2 separate regions of the Homo sapiens genome follow, and region 2 is linked to region 1. Evidence: promoter capture Hi-C in 16 types of primary human blood cells and fetal thymus (Javierre and others, 2016). All regions are on one chromosome and are shown on one strand. Each heading gives the region's core, a stretch centred on a gene start or on the middle of the fragment in contact. The rest is flanking DNA. Distances are from core to core; before and after follow the strand shown. Region 1 holds the start of ENOX2 (ecto-NOX disulfide-thiol exchanger 2). Region 2 holds the start of PABIR3 (PABIR family member 3).

Evidence for each region. The method cuts DNA at HindIII sites, captures the fragments that hold promoters and counts their contacts. A CHiCAGO score of 5 or more calls a contact.
Region 2: a contact is called between a fragment that was not itself captured here and the fragment with the promoter of ENOX2 in region 1, in 4 of 17 cell types (non-activated CD4 T cells, total B cells, total CD8 T cells and 1 more). The highest score is 15.7, in non-activated CD4 T cells.

Annotation. Positions count from the first base shown.
Region 1 is chrX:130,901,778-130,907,199 of GRCh38, forward strand. ENOX2 (ecto-NOX disulfide-thiol exchanger 2) reads right to left here and starts at 1,432. Exons shown (of 15, transcript NM_006375.4): 1 at 1,272-1,432. RefSeq lists enhancers at 798-1,317, 1,178-1,447, 1,318-1,837, 1,458-1,647. The HindIII fragment of the contact is 1,854 bases long and covers 68-1,921 here.
Region 2 is chrX:134,803,194-134,809,263 of GRCh38, forward strand. It overlaps PABIR3 (PABIR family member 3), which reads left to right and starts at 4,044. Exons shown (of 11, transcript NM_001388447.1): 1 at 4,044-4,148; 2 at 4,347-4,515. The coding sequence starts at 4,406. RefSeq lists enhancers at 4,401-4,560, 4,946-5,902. The HindIII fragment of the contact is 1,289 bases long and covers 3,686-4,974 here.

The DNA of each region.
Region 1 (5,422 bases), core at 182-2,681:
TTTATTTGATACAGAATAATATCCAAACTATGTGTATGTTTCAAAGTATCATGTTATTATGACCCCAAGCTTCTCCACCCTATTTATTTCCCAGTATATTTGTGCTGATATCTTTTATTCCAATCAGGCAAGCCCACCTGTCTCACAGTGCTCCCTCTTCTGTTTACCCTTCTCAAAGTCCAATCTCAGTAGCAGGAAGCATTTTCTCCCTCCTCTTTGACAACTTCAAATCCCCTGTACTCTGCTGGAGCCCAGATTAAAATTCACCTCCTTCACAAAGCCTGAAAGCCGGATGAGGGCTTCAGCACTTCCCGGGTTAGGCTTGAACTTCCATAGATGAACTCACCACCCCCATCAGTATGCTCTTCCACTGACCCCTCTTAGCGTTTTTTGCACACGTTTGTAATAATACAATGATTAATATGGTCTGTTTCACACGGTCTACTTTATTCTGTAGAATAAAGGTGTGCCCCCTAAATGTTTGTCAACATTAGTGCTATCAGTCTTTGCTGGAAACCCCTAAAGCGCTGGATTTTTATAACCAGTCTAACTTGCCTTTTACTCTCACCAGAACCCTGCACTGAACCTTAAACACACATTTCTCAAAAGCAAGATTCCTTCCCTCTTTTGCTTCCCATCCCTTCTAGAAATTGAGGGGAAACTCTCCCCACTTCAAAGACCTGGTGGGGGAAGTGGCAGGTGGCTGAGGGGCCAGTAAAGAGATGGCGATCAATTAAGGAGGCAAAAAGAGAAAGTTTGAAAAAAAAAAGTCACGCCCTGAGCGTGGCAAGGAATTCCCATGCCCCAAAGAAAATGGGGAGTGTAGCGCAGGGAGGGTTATGTGCCCAAACCTGAAATACAAATTGAGGGAAAAGAGGAAAGAGATCACCCAATTCCTGCGGTAAGAATTAGAGTCCAGTCACCGCCTAGGCAAAACCCTGGACGCAAACCCCAACTTCGGACCTCTGAGGAGGCACAGAGCCAGGGGGAGGGGGGCGGCGTCGTGGGAAAAAAAAAAAGGGGCGGGCGAGTTGGACCAAAAAAAAAAAAAAAAAAGAGCAAAGACAGCGCGCTCCCGGGCTCAAGAGAACTGGCGCCTAGAGCTCAAAAGCCCACCCCCGACTCCCAGTCCCGATACCCCCTCCCCTGCAGAGGTGGAGCTGGGTGGAGTTAGGCGCTGAGGACCGCGGCCCCGGAAGCACCCTCCTCCCTAGGCCCCCTCAGTCCCACAGTCCCCAGCCACGGCCACCGGGGCTTTCTGCCTCTCTGACCTCCAGCTCCCCGGCTACCGAAGCGCTAGTCCTTATACAGCCGCGGAAAATCGGGCCGGCGCGGCAGTTCCTGGGCTCGTAGTGCCCTCGCGGCGCCCCACGCCGCGCCACTCTCTTCCGAAATGCCCGCCTCGCGCTTCCAGGCCTAGACCCGGCACTCTGGCCCAAGGCTGGACTCTCACACACAGGGTGCCCACTGCGGCGTCTCCTATTGGCTACTGGTCACCGGGGAAGCCGGAGGCCCGAGCCCATGGCTTCATGGGAAATGTAGTTTGAGGTCGCTGGAGGCTGTTCTTCCTGGGGGTAACTCGTGTTGACATTGGCAGACAGACACAAGTGAGGACCGAGAATTATGGGAGATGGAGTTGCGGGACACTTATTTCTCTATACGCACAATTCTTCCCCTCCCCTTCCGATTGTCCCCAGCGTTCAGACGGGGAAGGGTATTCTGGGTATTGTAGTTTGGGTGCACTGTCTAGAGAATCTCTCTTGGGGTTATGGGTTTGTGCTTGTGGGGACAGACGAAGGCTCTAGATTTATTTTCATGTCGGTTAAGCTCTTAGCATTTTGCGGGAAGCACTTTCTATCGTGATTTGAAATTGTTATTGAGTTTTAAGTGTTTTTCAAAAGATGATGTTTATTCTTTGGTAAGCTTAGAATTTTAATTGAGAGTTATAGTCCTTTAAAATTGTTAAAGTGTGTTCCTTGTGAACCACCTGCATTAAAATCACTTGAAAGGTATGGAAGAATGTATATATTTTTTTCTAATTGGAAATTATAGTTCCCCCTGGAAACAGTGTCATAAATAGGCATAGAAATGTGATCTACACCAGCCCAGAAGAAGCCTATTTAATCCATAATGAAGCTATGTTGTTGCCATGAAAAACAGTGGCCACATAAACTGCTATAAATAACAATTTAGAACAGATAGACAATACAACTTAAGTACAAACGAGTAACTATATGTGTCTTTAAGAAACTTAACCTTTTGAGTAAAAATATGTTACAAGAGCTGGATAAAGACATAGGTGGGGAATGCCAAGCACTTCCAAGTGACTTAAAGGTTGAGGAAAATGGTTGTTTATTAGGGCTAATTTCACTCCCAACTTTTGACCTTTTTTTTTCTCTGTTAGAGATGAATCCTTGTAGCCTTGTTACAGTTGAATTACTACAACTTCTTGATGAGGACAACTTTTCGACTCACGAGTAAAATGAAGGGAAAGACAGGGGAATTGCATTTTGCTGAGGTAATTGCCCAATATTTTAAAAAGATAAGTGAAGGAGGAAGACGATTTAATAAATTCAACCATTTATTCAGCATAGTGCTTTGTGCAAAGCTCTGGGCTAGGCACTGTTGCCACAGAATTGGAAAAATAGTCCCTACCCTCAAGTAGCTCAAAATCCAGGTGAGGGGAGTTGTAGTAGAGGAGAATCTGGGGGGAGGAATAGATGAGTATACAATGTGCAAAATGCTGTAAAGAAGTCTACATAGGGTTCTATAGGAACATAGAGGAGGAAGAACTTGTTCTACTTCTGGAGAACTGGTTGAAGAACCAGTAAAATATTTGTCAGATTTGGGGCAGGGAGGTCAACCATATTCTATACAAAGCATATGCAAAGGCATAAAGGCATGAAAGAGTGCAGAGAACAATAGCAAAAGTTCCATATTGCAGAGACTAGATCAGGCAGCAACAAGGGGTCATATCAATTAGTTCATAATTTAACTTGAAAGTGGGAGAGAACCATCAGAGGAATTTTTGTGCTTATATAGTGTTTATTTTTTAAAGCATATACACATAGAACATACTGGGAACACATAGCTAGGGTATTATGGGGAATCATTCTGGAGGGTGGTAATTGAATTGCTATATTATGTTTTAATACTTTTTATACTTTTAAATTCCTCCAGGAAAATAATTTGCTTTTTTAAAAAAAGAAAAATCGGCTGGGTGCCGGGGCTCATGCCTGTAACCCTAGCACTTTGGGACACCAAGTTGGGAGGATTGCTTGAGCCCAGGAGTTCGAGACCAGCTTGGGCAACATAATGAGACCTTGTCTCTACAAAAAATCAAGAAAATTAGCCAGGCATAGTGGCGCATGCCTGTAGTCCCAGCTACTCAGGAAGCTGAAGCAGGAGGATCCCTTGAGCTTGGAAAGTTAGGGCTGCAGTCAGCCGATATTGTACCACTACACTCGAGTGTAGTGGGTGATAGAGCAAGACTCTGTCTCAAAAAAAATTAAAAAATTAAAAAAAGAAAGAAAAAAGAGAAAAAGAAAAATCACCTCATTTCAGCCATAAAAAGGAGTGAAACAAGGCATTTTCAGTATTATGGCCACCAGAAAAACATTGTGTGAATCAAATGCAGAATTTCTTTTCTCAGCTTTGTCTCCTTTCTTTTTATCTTTTTTTCCATGACTCTTTACTTTGATTTGATCATTGATTTCAAAGTATTTGCAGAGCACCTACTATGTTCCATACACTATGACAGGTTTTGGGTTTTAATGGTGAGTTAAAACATGGGTTCCTGTTCATCAAAGTATTTCTAGCAGGAAATGGAATAATCAGATGGAGTTGGTAGATGTGGAAAGTGAGAGACGGGGAGGAGTCCATTACGACTCCCAAGTTCTGACTTGGAAGACTAAGTGTATGGTAGTACCATTCACTGAGATATTGAACCTAGAAAGAATAGCAAGTTTTGTGAAGAATAGGAGGAAATCAGTTTTGAACATTTAAAATTTGAAGAGTCTGTGGAACTTTTGGTTGGAGATGCCTGATAGGCTGCTGAGAAATGCCGGTCGGAAGCTTGGGAGAGAGGTCTTGCTTGGAACTAAACATTTGGGAGACATTAGTATAATATAGAGGGCAATTAAATAAGTGAAAAATTGTTTAAACTTTACTTAGAGAGTATTTTTTTTTTTGAGACGGTTTCTTACCCTGTTGCCTAGGCTGGAGTGCAGTGGCACAATCTCGGCTCACTGCAACCTCTGCCTCCTGGGTTCAAGTGATTCTCCTGCCTCAGCCTCCCGAGTAGCTGGGATTACAGGTGCCTGCCACCACAGCTGGCTATTTTTTTTTTTATTTTTAGTAGAGATGGGGCTTCACTGTGTTGCCCAGGCTGGTCTCGAACTCCTGACGTCAAGTGATCCACCCGCCTCAGCCTCCCAAAGTGCTGGGATTACAGGCGTGAGCCACTGTGCCCAGCCAATTTAGAGAGTATTTAGAATAATAGTTTTTAAAAAGACAAAGATTATGGAATCCTGGAAAATAATGATATTCAAGTAGCAAGTAGAAGAAGAGATGCCTTCCAAGGAAGCTGAGAGGGAATGCCCAAACAGATGAACCAAGAGAAAACAAAGTAGAATTACTGGCATATATTACAGAGAGGTCAAGTAGCAGGACAGAATAGTAAGAAGAAATTACTCCTTCATCAATATAACAAGTTTTTATTGAGTACCTATAATGTGCCAGACATTATTCTAGATGCTGGGAATAGAGAAGTGGAAAACACATACAACATCCCTTCCCTTTGGAGGCTATATTCTGTTAGGAAGAAGCCATCAACAAACAAGATAAATAATTAAAATACATAGCTGTGATAAGTAATATTTCTTACTGTGTATGTCACAGCTGTGTATGGCTATTTCTGTATGGTGATATAAATACACACACACACACATATATATATCTCCAATAAGCCATATGGAAATTTTATATATAATATATAAAACATATCTATATCTCCAATAAGCCATACAGAAATTTTATATATAATATATATTATATATAAGCACAAATGTATACATATATTTGTATGTGTATATACAAACGTGATACTCTTTGGTCTGTTGTTATATAATAAGATGAATTTGTGAAATACTGGCCCAGGGTCAAACAGTCTGGCTGGATTCAGAGAACAATTAGGAAGTCAAGGTTAGAGCTGTATCCAGAGCCAGTGTAGAGCCCAGGTCAAGGCCAGGGTTCATGTGTATAATGTGGAATGTATTTAGCTTCAATCTTTTCTCAGGTTAAGATTTAGTAAGTCTGTAGCTGTTTTTACAGGCCATTGTGGATTCAGGATCAGAAGACCATCAAACCAAGCTTAGGGTTAAGCCTGATAGCAATATTAGGCCCCAGATTTAGAGCCATGGTT
Region 2 (6,070 bases), core at 3,080-5,579, 3.9 Mb after region 1:
CAAAGAGGCAGGGGCTGGAGGGAGCTGGAGGGGGCTGCATGTGGAAACAAGTCATGCTGCTGGGGCCACATGTGGAAGGAGGTCTTTGTGCCCTAGGTCTCTCAGAACAATTTTTCATTGTTCTTCCCCACCTGGGGCCCCTTTCTCATTGTTTCTTACTTATCTTATCAGGACTCCACAAACTCTTTTAATCCTCACCACTTGAATGGCCCTGGGGAAGAGAAGGCCATTGCATTGAAATGTAATAGTTCTGAAATTGCTTTCAAAATTCAGCCAGAAATAATAATTTTGCCTGCCTCTTTTCAATTATCCCATACTAAACTTGCCAAGGCCAATTATCATTTTATTCCTCACTGTTTATGCTTTCTGCCTGCAGTATGAGGGATTTGTAAGTACTTTTAGATAGTTTCCTTTAAATTGCCTGTATTTTTCTCCCAGCTAGATTAGAAACAACAACCTCTGTTTTTGAGCAACTTAGGTATCTCTTTTTATCTCAAGGTCTCAGCAACCCTTAAGGCCAGCCCCACCTCCTACTCCCTGCTCAAAAGAAATTATAATACATTCTTTTGTTCACAATAGCTACTAAACAATCATTTGTTGACCACATGCATGCACTGACCTCAGGAGCTTAACAATTTAGGAGAACGCGAGGAGAATAATGCTACTTTGGCCATCATTTCTAGGTTTTATTAACATCATTCTTGCCTGCTAGTTTTTTTTTTTTTTTTAACCTTTCATGTAAATCTTTTGGGAAGGTTTGGGGTGTTTGTGGTTTGTAGATTTGGGTTTGACTTGTATTTGACTTGCTCTTGTGGTAACTAAAGGTTACAACGTAGCTTCAAGGTTGTCATGACAACTGGTAAAATAAAGAGCTGATTATCACATGTTTGTTGGTTCCCTTTTATAGGTGAGGGCCTGGGACAGACGCAGCAGACTGGGATATGCAAAGAGAGGAGTAGCCTAATTGTCAAGTCTAGATCTAACAAAAGCAGTGTCCCAAGATCATGGCATATTTCCCTGGAACTGGAAGGACTGATCAAGAAACACAGCTAGGTTGGTATAATAATGTGTGCGTAGAAATGGGGAGAAGTAAAAACAATTTCTTTAATGTTGTGTTTGCCATTGTAGCATATAGAATTCTTGCTGTTTTTGTATTACTTGTTCCTTTTGATATTCCAATTTGTGTATGTACTATGAGTCCTATTTATATCTTTACAGGTTTGGGGTTCCTGACATGTAGCTGTTCTTTTGTAAAAGAGAGCTCCTTCTCTTTGATAATAGCTGTAAACTTATTACCATCTCATATATTTAGTTATTTCATATTACTCCTTTTCTTAGAAACATAGTCCCTTAGTCACTCTTCCCTTGTCATTTTATTATACCTATTTTCTTAGTGTTGTTGTACTTATTTAAAAATTAGATACTTGTAATGCTTAGGCAGGATGAAATTTTGTCTATTTATTCAAAATATACGTATGAAACCTTACTACCTGCCAAGAATACTAGCAAAAGTTGAAAATTAAAATGAACACAATGGAGGTAAGATTCCCTTGTTCACTGGCCTGCTTCATATTTTTCTGTTATTCAGACAATTTGTTTTTTGACTCTGTTCTGTCTTTAATCACTGCCTTCTGCATTCATCCTGAATTTACTCAGCTTTAACCACCATCTTTTATAAACGTTCAGGTACCCTGGGAATTTTAACAGTGGCTTTTAGGACATCTTGATACTAGCCTGAATTCTCCTGCTATCTAATTATGTGCCATTAATCTCTTTGGAATTTTATCCAACTGTAAAATAGAAATGATTTACCTACTTTACAAGATAACTATGAAAGATAGGCTATTTAAACCTGCATTTATTCATAAAATAATTTCAGAAGTATTTATCAAGTGCTTATGAGTACAGAAATTCAAGGAGATATTCTGAGGCATCTCATTTTTTTTTTTACTTAAACAGAAGGGCAGAGGAATCTTGGCTTTGCCACTTAGTAGTTGCAACTTGAGTAAACCCCTCTGGGCTTTGGTTTCCTCCTGTGAAAAATGGGCATTGTGATGGTGCCTACCTCAAAGAATTATTGTAAACTTTAAATGCAATCACCTATTTAAAGTGATTAGGACAGTACCTGGCACATAGTAAGTGCCCAACAAACGGTAGCTATTACTAATCTGTCTTATATAAGGAATGGAGACTCCACATCATCCTCATGTCTGGGATTTAAGTAATCTAATTCTGCCTAATATACTCAAGTTTGTCTTATTCTATTCCCAGAATGAACAAAGAATACATATTTATTACCTTACATGTCATAACTTGTCACGAACTATCTCAAGACTGTCCCATTATTTTAAGTTCACCACTGGGTAGCTGAGCAGGGTTGATGATTGAACCAATCCAGATAAGTATGTGAAAACATTTTGTAGGCCAGGCGTGGAGGCTCATACCTGTAATCCCAGCACTTTGGGAGGCCGAGGCGGGTGGATCACCTGAGGTCGGGAGTTCGAGACCAGCCTGACCAACATGGAGAAACCCCATCTCTACTAAAAATACAAAATTAGCTGGGAGTGGTGGCACATGCCTGTAATCCCAGCTACTCTGGAGGCTGAGTCAGGAGAATCGCTTGAACCAGGGAGGTGGAGGTTGTGGTGAGCCAAGATTGCGCCATTGCACTCCAGCCTGGGCAACAAGAGCGAAACTCCGTCTCAAAAAAAAAAAAATGTTATCCGTAAAGTGCTATACCAGTGTTATGACTATTTTAATTAATAACTCCCATTTCACTAGGTTTATTTGCCTTGTCTGCCAGTTCTCTATATGGTTACTAAAATGTGTGGTTTTACAAAATTATTAGCATGGAGTTAAGATTTCAGTACTCAGTGTGGCTCATTAAGTGATGGTGAAAATTTCTAAAAGAGTAGTTCTTAAAACGATATGAGCCATGGCAGCATTCTTAGAATGTATGTAGCTTCTAATACTACCTGAAATGAAAACACTGATTTGCATTGATACTAAATTCTGAGATATTTGTTTTTAAAAAAGCCTCACTGCTTTAACTCAAATCTTTGTAAATTAGCTGAGGTCTTTATTTTTTATATGAATAGCTGTGAGGAGCCAGATTATATATAATGTAAAAATACACACTGAGGCAGGCGCGGTGGCTCACGCCTGTAATCCCAGCACTTTGGGAGGACGAGGCGGGCGGATCACCTGAGGTCCAGGAGTTCGAGACCAGCCTGGCCAACATGGTGAAACCCCGTCTCTACTAAAATACAAAAATTAACCAGGCGTGGTGGCGAGCACCTGTAATCCCAGCTACTCGGGAGGCTGAGGCAGGAGAATCGCTTGAACCTGGGAGGTGGAGGTTGCAGTGAGCCGAGATCGCGGCCACTGCACTCCAGCCTGAGCAACAAGAGCGAAATTCCATCTCAAAAAAAAAAAAACAAAAAACTGTACGATTATGGTTTAAAAAAGAAAGAAAGAAACCACACTGAAAACAGTAATTCGTTTGCCAAATGAGCTCAGTTAGGTTAGCACCTTAGCAAGACCCTTTGGGACCAAGTGGCCTCTAAGCACTTAGGTAGCAGTATCTTTTTTTTTTTTTTTTTTTCAGACTTTTGCTTTTCTAAAATTACAAAGGTGTAGTGTGTCTGCTGTTACAGGATGGAAAAATGCATCATAGGAGGTTAGAAGCTTGTTGGCCTCAGTCATAAAGGGATAAGAAAAATGAGAATTAGGCATAGGGCAGGAAGGACCTCACTCCTCCCAACGCTTTCATTTCTAAATAATGCTTAAGGAAACCATGCCAGGGTTAGTAAAAGAGTAGAGGCACAACCACGGTAAGTGGGCATTGGGGAAAGAGGAAGGAGGGCAGGACATGGGGATAAAGCGGTTTCTTAACTGCGCGTGCGCCCCTGGCAAAGCTGACTAAGGCGCCTGAAGTGACGTCATTGCCTGCATCACAACAGGCGTCGTCCGGCTGATAGCTTATCGCAGGCTCTGAGGGGCGGGACCCAACTGATTGTCAAAGGCGGCAGATTGTAGTTTTTGTTTTGGCCGGAAAGGCTTACCATGAGTTGCCAGGGCTGAGAGAGATGGAGAAGGATTCGCGGCGGTGACAGATTAAATTCCCCAGTTACATTATAGACTTGGAGGTGGGGGATCTTCTCATCGTTAGAGGCCCCGATCATGGGAGATAGGCGGTTCGGAGCCAGTTCTGCCTAACTTTGTGTTCACTGATGTTAGGGCTGCTAGGGCTGCAAAGGTGGGCACCCCTACTCGCCTAAGAGCTTTCTCCTCTCTTCTCTTTTTCCCCTTTGCCTCTCTCCTTACATCACCTGCCCACTAAGTAGACTTGTCCTTGTGTGGACGGGAGCCGGAAAGCCTTGAGAACTTATTCCTCGACCCGGACATGGCACAGGAGAAAATGAAACTAGGTTTCAAGTCGCTGCCGAGTTCCACTACCGCAGACGGCAACATTCTGAGAAGAGTCAACAGTGCCCCTTTGATCAATGGACTTGGGTGAGCCGGGTTGAGATACTGGAGGAGGCAAGCGGTGGGGAGGAGGTGTTCGGGAAAGTGATTTCCTATAGAATTCCCGTCCCTTTATTTGTTGAGGTTCTGCAGGTAACTCCCTTGTTCCTGGTGTCCGGAGATCCCACCCTCAACCTTGGGTGGGGGTAGTGGGACGGGCTGACCTGAGGGGGAGCGCGCACCCACCCTGAGGTTGACAAACATCTGAATCTGAACATCCTCCCCTGATAGTCCACTCGGACCCGAAAGTAGCAGCCAGTTGGTGTGGAGCACGGCTTTTTTCTAACTTCAACCCATTTCTTACCCACTCCTTTGAAGAAACTTAGTATCCTCCCCCACTCACCTCCAGATCTTCTGCCATGACTGTAATATTTGTCATTTCAGCTGCTTTGTCACCTCTGACCTTCACCTCCAGCCGCTTGAATGGAAATGGTTGTCAAGCAAATAAGCTTTGGACTTTTTTACATTTTTTTTTTTGTCTTTTTTTGAGACGGAGTCTTGCTCTGTCGCCCAGGCTGGAGTGCATTGGCACGATCTCAGCTTACTGTAACCTCCGCCTCCTGGCTTCAAGCAATTCTCATGCCTCAGCCTCCCTAGTAGCTAGGATTACAGGCGCCCACCACCACACCTGGTAATTTTTTGTATTTTTATTTTTTATTTATTTGTTTATTTATTTTTGAGACGGAGTCTCACTCTGTCGCCCAGGCTGGAGTGCAGTGGCGTGATCTCGGCTCACTGCAAGCTCCACCTCCCGGGTTCACGCCATTCTCCTGACTCAGCCTCCCAAGTAGCTGGGACTACAGGCGCCCACCAACACTCCCGGCTAATTTTTTGTATTTTTAGTAGAGACAGGGTTTCACCGTGTTAGTCAGGATGGTCTTGATCTCCTGACCTCGTGATCCGCCCGCCTCGGCCTCCCAAAGTGCTGGGATTACAGGCGTAAGCCACCGTGCCCGGCCTAATTTTTTGTATTTTTAGTAGAGACAGGGTTTCACCATGTTGGCCAGGCTGGTCTCGAACTCCTGGCCTCAGGGGATCCGCCTGCCTCAGCCTCCCAAAGTGCTGGTATTACAGACGTGAGCCACTGCTCCTGGCCTACACCTATTTTTTATTGGAGCAGAAAGTTTTGGTACCACAGAAGCTTGATCTCCTAAATTACACATTCTCACTGGGTGATACTTCCCCCAAGGGGAAGAGAAAATAGTTCTTGGGGGAGTGTGAAAAATTTTTACTCTTTTTATGTATAAAGCGCAGATATACATACAGTATGTACACAGATATATACTATATATGTGTTATTAAAATTTCACGAAGGGGGAGCAATTAGGGGAAAAATGTCTAAAAAGGCTTTTTAGAGGGTCAATAATGAAAAAAGGATTTAGAAACACTACACTAAATGATGGTTAACTGTATTTCTGAAGATCTGGGATTACTAAATCTTGTTTCCTTTTTTTTTTTTTTTTAAGACGGAGTCTCACTGTGTCGCCCAGGCTGGAGTGCAGTGGCATGATCTCGGCTCACTGCAACCTCTGCCTCCCGGGTT